Linked DNA regions of Homo sapiens: region 2 is linked to region 1. The links are contacts of gene promoters, found by promoter capture Hi-C in human tissues and cell types (Jung and others, 2019). All regions are on one chromosome and are shown on one strand. Each heading gives the region's core, a stretch centred on a gene start or on the middle of the fragment in contact. The rest is flanking DNA. Distances are from core to core; before and after follow the strand shown. Region 1 holds the start of TMPRSS11D (transmembrane serine protease 11D). Region 2 overlaps TMPRSS11A (transmembrane serine protease 11A).

Region 1 (3,555 bases), core at 440-2,939:
TATTTGATATGAATACCTAGCTGCTATTTATTAGTAGTAGATACAGGCTATTAAAGAGATAAAATATTCCAAAAAGTGTGATCCTTAGAAACCAAAATTCCACAGAAGAGTTATTTGTAATTGGCAAGGTTGGCTCTGATTGAGTGTCAAATTTCCTGTACAATGATGGATCAACTTAGAAATTTGATTGATTCAAAGCCTTCTGAAATTGTACAACTCTTTCAGGATTTGTATCATTTACATGTCTTCTTTTATTATTTTCCATTGAATGATGTTTTGATATACACTTGACTGCTTATAAGGGCAATATTTTAAAATCAGAGTAATTTCTTTAAAATTAAAATATTTCAGCAAAATACATTTTAAAATGCACTATATTACCCAAATAATATTACACTTATAGATGGTTTAAGAACAATAAAAAATATAATTCATAAACTCACTGCTTTAGTATAACAAACCTGATTAATGTTCTATGTTCTTTATTAGACTTTCTCCCATGTATAGCTTTACAAAGTAGTAGTTGATGAGTAAATACAATTTTGTGATTTGTTTTTTTCACATAAAATAAGAACAAACTCAGTATGTAAATTACTTCATAGGTTTTTAAGCTACTTTAATACATTTCTTGTATCTATTACATGAATATGAAATGATTTTATTTCTTCTATCATTGGAAGCTTAGACAGCTATCCACTTTTCACTCATATATATATATTCAAGTGCATATAACTGTATATATATTTTTATTACTTAAAATGGTTTGACTTTTGATTGAATTTTCCAATGTTCAGGAGATTTAAAATAAATTCAGCTGCACTTATTATAGCTAACACATTGTTCATGCTTTTGTTGATCCTTTCAGCATGACTTATCAGTATCATGTTTTCCTGTAGTCATAGAAAAATAATATGCATAATATATACACTTAAGTGCACACATAAACATACCAAGTTACATAATTATTTCATTGTTTTGAGATGTTAACGTGTGACTTGATTATCTCACAACTTTTTTCTTTCTTTATGTGAAAGTATAGGAAAATACTTATTCATTAACTAAAAAGAAAACCAGAGAGAGATTATTTTCTCTTAAATGTTAGCAAGAACTTTCTTGAAAATAATTCTACAACTATATAAAAAGTAGAAAAATACCGTCTTTACTTTCTAAAAGTGTACTTTAGGATTTATGGCATATTTATTTAATAGCTAGCAATAAAACTGTAATGGAAGTCAAAACACAGAATCCTCGAAAAGTTCCAAACAACACAAGAATTGTTTACTGATTGCAATTTTAAAATCCACACACCACTTTTCGAAATGTTGCACATGAGAAACAAAACCACTTCCTTATTTAAAGATATGTTGTCATAACGCTAAGCTAAGTATTTTTGTGGTTGTTTTATAAAAAATTCAGTTAAGCAACTATGTACCTTATGAAAATAATATCAAGCATATTATCTAAACAATATCTAAGAGTTTCGATGAAGTTTTCAGAGAAGTAACTAGAAGATTGCTAGACACAGTCAAAATTTGCTAAGCTTCTTTATATTTTTCCCATACTGTAAGATATAGTAAAACTTTTAAAGCTACAAAGACAAAAACAGGACTTACCTATACATTTTAATCCTTAATGAAGAGGTTCTTTTTTCTGCCTACTCAACTGCTTTGAGATTCCCACTCAAATGAATGACTCTCATGTATTACGTGTGATCTATAGTTGAGGACAAAGGAGGAAATCTCATGTTAATTAAAATCTAACTTGTTAAACAAGTTTGAGGGAATCAACAAACCAATAGTATGACTTGTGGAAGATAATTGGAAATAGACAGGGAATTTCACAAATTAGTAAGAAATTTATTTATTCTGGTAAATTGAGATTAAACACAATTACAATTGACAGGTATTTTGTGAAAGCCTGTGACTACTTCACAACTGTAGAGTCACTTTTAGTTCAAGAGGATTTGACACTTATTTTGCTCATGTTATCATATTGTTATACACCTCATTCCTCAACACAGCCAGCCAAGATCCATCAGAACATACTTTCCGTACATTAATGGGCACTACCTCTGAATTCCCTCATCTGTATGATTAAATGCAGTTTTTCTCATAATATATGAAACAGAGCATAATTGAGTAGATGCACAAAGTAAGACAAGCAAACAGAATAGTTGGAACTAAAATCCACTTTGTTTTTTTCCAAATATGATCATTTGAAAAAGCTATTCTAACACACTACTACTAGAAGAGGAGCAGACAGAAGAAGACAGTATGAGTGTGTAGGGTGTTAGGGTAAGGATGGAGAGCTCAAGAAAACAGGCAAGACTAGCAGGGAGGGGAAAAAGGGCATTCCTGTCTAACATTGCAAAGAAGCAGGATATAAATTTGGAAGGTTATACTGGGGTTACTTTGTGAGAACTAATGAATGCTAAAGAATTGGAACTTGTAATAGAATTATTACAATATTATTAGTAGTACAATATGAATTCTAGTCTTAGCTTTTTCACCAACTAATTGTGTAGCTTAAGGGAAAAAATTTACTTATTTCTCCATAAGTCACATGTATCTACTAAGAAAAGTGGAAGCTGAATCAGGAGGTCTTAGAGGACTCTCAATTATAAAATTCTATGACTTCATCTTGTAAAGCACTGACAACTAATGGTTAAATTTACTCCAATACTGCAACTTCAGATGTGTTCAGTTACTTGACTTTTTCTATATAATGTGCAAATCAAACAACAGAGACAGGAATAAGTGGTTACTTATATGTTTTTTCCCAAATATATTTGGGAAATATATTTTTTACATACAGTATCTCATGCCTGACATTCTGCCATTGATTTTTTAGCAATAAATAAATAACTATAATAAGATTTAAAAGTTTAAAAAATAAAGTTACCTAAACAAACCATTTTTAAATTTTACATGTTAACTTCAAGTACCTTTAAATATAGTTATATCATGGTATATAATTTTGTATTATGCTTTTTATACTTAATATTATTTCACAAATATATCGCTATTACTAATTTTTATTTTTAGTAGCTATATATTTATAACTTTGTATTTTTATATAATTTAAAACACAAATATGGTACCAAGATTCATTAATTATTAGCAGTTTTAATGGTTGCATTTTAAAAGGTAAATCACATTACATTGAATGGACTTATCATAAAGCACCAAAGTTATTTTCTAATGTGAAGTATTTAGACATTTTCTATTTTTTTATTGTAGATGATTCTTTGAATGACCACCTTCACAAACATAGTTTTTCTTTGTCATCCTACAGTTGAATTTTTCTTCAGAATAAACTGAAGAGGCTTATTGAGCCAAGTGATTTAAATATTTTAATGGCTTATAAAATTATACTTTTGTTTTAATAATTTTTACTAGGATTTAAAGTGTTATTTTCTGTTTTTTGCTTACAGAAATTTTCTCTAATTATGCATGCTCTTTCTTGTATGTCTTTATTTCCTGGAATACTCAGCAGCAAAGGCCTTTTTACCACGTAGGTACTTACTCATCATATGTTGTTTAGATGTCTCATAAT
Region 2 (3,488 bases), core at 76-2,575, 43 kb after region 1:
ATAGGCAGTGAGCTGCTTGACTACAGCCTTGGTGTTTGCAATGCAAAGAAGTTGATTTTAGCTTTGCTTTGTCACACTGTGTCTCCTGAAGGACCCACACCACACAGTTTTTTTTTGTCAAAACAAAATACAGATTCTTGACAAATTATAAATAAATCTTGGGCTACAGGATTATTTCTAGACTTAATCTAGAATCTCTACAGTTTTCTATTTATTGGTAGTCCATAAATTTTGTTTGCCCAGGAAACAATGTTTTTGCCTATAAAAAATTGACGTAAAGATTTTCCTGAGCTGTCCACTGAATGTGCCTTTCTTAAGTGCTAGTGATGGCAGCTACAGGCTGTCTGGAGCAGTGGTAGCAGGAGCGGATGCGGGAGTAGCAGTGATGGTGGTGGGTCCCCTGTGTCCCACATCCCTGAGGCAGCCGACTGTGCCACCCCCAACCTCACGTGACCAGGCAGGACCTGCTCCCAGGCCTGGAGCCTCTCCTGCTCCGGAACCTGGCCCCACATTGCCATTCTTGACCATGGCCACTGCAGGGAGGGCGTGGGGAGAAGGTGGACAGTCCTTGGAGCCCATCCCTGGGAGCCCCCCAGAGCCTGCCACCCTGGGAGCTACCACAATGGGGCTGGGCTGAGTTGCCCACTGGTGGGGGAGCAGCTTGGTCAGGCACGGAGGGGTGGGCAGAGAGGTGCTGGAGGCAGCATTGGACCCTTGCAGATGGAGAGGTGACTGGGAGACCATGGGACTACCTGCCTGCAGAGAGGAGATAGACCACTCTAGGGCCTACTGCCTACTGTGTGCTGAAAGCTGAACACTCAACAGGACAACCTGCCTGCAGAGAGGAGCTTCTACCTCCAGGGCCTCCTCTTTGCTAGGAGCTGGACACTTGTTGGGACACCCTGGCTATGAAGAGGAGCTGCCCACTGTGGGTCTCCTGTGAGCTGTTCTCTTGCTCAGTAAACCTTTCTTCGTCTTGCTCACCCTCCACTTGTCTGCATACCTCATTCTTCTTGGTCTCAGGACAAGAACTCAGGACCTGCCAAATAGCAAGACTGAAAGAGCTGTAACACAAACAGGAATGAAACATACCCCTTGCTGGCCACATTGTGGGTAAAAAGAGAGAAAAGCTGCAGCCCTTTAGGGATCCCAGACCTGGGAGCTCCCCAAGCCAGGGTTGTGACTCCCTCTTTGGGACCCTGCAGTTCCTGGCATCTCCAAGCTTCCTGGGTGCCACCACATTCCCAGGTGCCTGCCAGGGAAGCTGCTTGCAGTGAGCTTTGTCCAGCCACAGCCTCACAGAGAGACAGCACACCTGTGCCAGTGCCTGGAGCTGCCCGTCATGCTGCAGCCAGTGTGCCTGGCTGTGGGCAGTGGCCAGACCCTGTGCTCGCTCAGACAACCCTCACAGCTCCATGCCTGGGTTGGCCTTGGTGGGCATGGGATCCAGGCTGGTAGCGGAAGGTGGGCACAGTCTGCCAGGTCAAGTGGGCAGAACAAGCCCAGTGGGCCAGAGCAAAACTTGGGCAAAGGCACCAACCACTGGCCACAGAGGTTTCTGGCCAGAAAAGCAACACCCCCTAGGCTCCCATATCACTAACAAACACTGTTCTTTCTACATTGAACATTCTGAAACTTTCAAGGATCTATCTTTCTGCTACTAGTCAATCACTCAAATTAATGATTTCAGGTTTCCAAAGCATATGCACAACATAATAGTTTTCTCATTAGTAACAGCCTCTTTATTTCACATTGTGTTTTCTATTTCCTTGTATATCGTTATAATCTCTCTGTGATTTCAGGAAGAACAAACATTACCATTGGAATTTTACAGATGAGAAAATGAAGACAAAGGCATGAGCCAATTATTTGGGTGGTCCTGTGGTGACTTAGTGGAGTTAGAATTGGTCAGGTAACTCTTTTATTTTTTATTTTTTTGGAGATGGAGTCTTGCTCTGTCAAGCCCAGGCTTGAGTGCAGTGGCGCGATCTTGGCTCACTGCAACCTCCGCCTCCCGGGTTCAAGTGATTCTTCCCCCTCAGTCTCCCAAGTAGCTGGGATTACAGGTGCCCGTCACCAGGCCTGACTAATATTTTGTATTTTTAGAAGAGACGGGGTTTCACCATATTGGCCAGGCTGGTCTTGAACTCCTGACCTCAGGTGATCCACCCGCCTCGGCCTCCCAAAGTGCTGGAATTATAGGCTTGAGCCACCATGCCCAGCCTCAGGTGACTCTCAAATCAGGTTCTCCATTAGCATATCCTACCATTTAATTTAGTACAATTATTAAAATAAGCTGAAGTTTAGAAGCTGAGCCTACAAAAAACAAAAAGACCAGGCAGCCAATGAACAATTTATGCTTTACTCTGGTTTCAGATAGTTCAGGCTTTTACATTCCTGACAAATTAACTATTTATTGGAAATTACACAGAAAGCATCATGTAAATTATCAGAATGCCCATTGTTTCACAACTTCTATTCATTTGCTTCCCCATCTAACAAAGAAGATGGATTAAGCACTTGTCAGGTTCCTCCCTTCTGGCTGGGAGAGGTCCTCAGCTTTATTCCCTAAGTAGCTGACTCGTTCTCACATCAGCAAACATCTGCCCATTCCATTACCTCACATTTTTTACTTCCTTATCTGGTTTCCTCTTGAAGTGTCAGCTAGACCCTTACAAGGGCAGAGTGTCCTGTTTCATGTCTGATAAAAATCGCTTGCCCTGAATCTCTTCTGTAACACTTAGGTCTGGTATCCATTGAAATTTGTAGGAGAAATCTATACTTGTCTGTTGGAAGAAGATGCTGTGCAAACAGCTTAGCGGACGAGGGTAAACAAGTTTCTCTCTAGCTGGCTGCCTTAGAATTTTTAATATGACACTATAAGGAAGAATTTCCAAGAAACGAGTATCAAAGCCAGAATTTTTAAGATGTGTTTGACTATAGAAACCTTTTTTAATTGGAGCCTTTTAAGAAATTAGAGATTTAAATTTGATTCTTAGCTCCTTTTAATTACTGAATTCCTCAACTCTTTTTGTGTGAATTTCACTTCTATAAAGGTGAATTTGCGTACGTCACTGGAATATAAAAAGAAATTAGTTACTTAAGGTAAAGGCCATAGAGATAGACCTTGATAAAGGTTTGTTCTCCTTAATTGAGGGAAGTGATAATGGTATAATGGGCTAAGGGTGAACAAAAAAAAAGAGAAAAGTGGAACAATGTACACATAGTTTCAGTGATGTTTTCCTAGACTGTGATTTTTAAAGCATTAATGGTAAAATGACTCTAACAACTTCAAAGTTGGCTTGCCATTTTCCCAAATGCCCATAGGAAAAAAAGCTAACAAAAATTGTATATCACCATATATAGAAACTATCAATAAAAGTATGGCAACACATGAATTTGTGTTTTAGGAAGGTCCCACCCAGAAAAACAATTATTGCTAAACCCCTAGTATTTTCACTTGCTTAGTCATGGAGGCAGTGCCTGGG

Evidence for each region. The method cuts DNA at HindIII sites, captures the fragments that hold promoters and counts their contacts. A contact is called where the count stands out against the background at its distance.
Region 2: a contact is called between a fragment that was not itself captured here and the fragment with the promoter of TMPRSS11D in region 1, in 1 of the 25 tissues and cell types used here (adrenal gland).

Annotation. Positions count from the first base shown.
Region 1 is chr4:67,882,313-67,885,867 of GRCh38, forward strand. TMPRSS11D (transmembrane serine protease 11D) reads right to left here and starts at 1,690. Exons shown (of 10, transcript NM_004262.3): 1 at 1,614-1,690. The coding sequence starts at 1,621. The HindIII fragment of the contact is 18,706 bases long and covers 1,111-3,555 here.
Region 2 is chr4:67,926,122-67,929,609 of GRCh38, forward strand. All of the region lies in intron 5 of TMPRSS11A (transmembrane serine protease 11A), which reads right to left. Among named protein-coding and RNA genes, the nearest start is that of TMPRSS11A, 36 kb to the right of the region's middle. RefSeq lists enhancers at 861-1,361, 1,362-1,862. The HindIII fragment of the contact is 7,576 bases long and covers 1-3,488 here.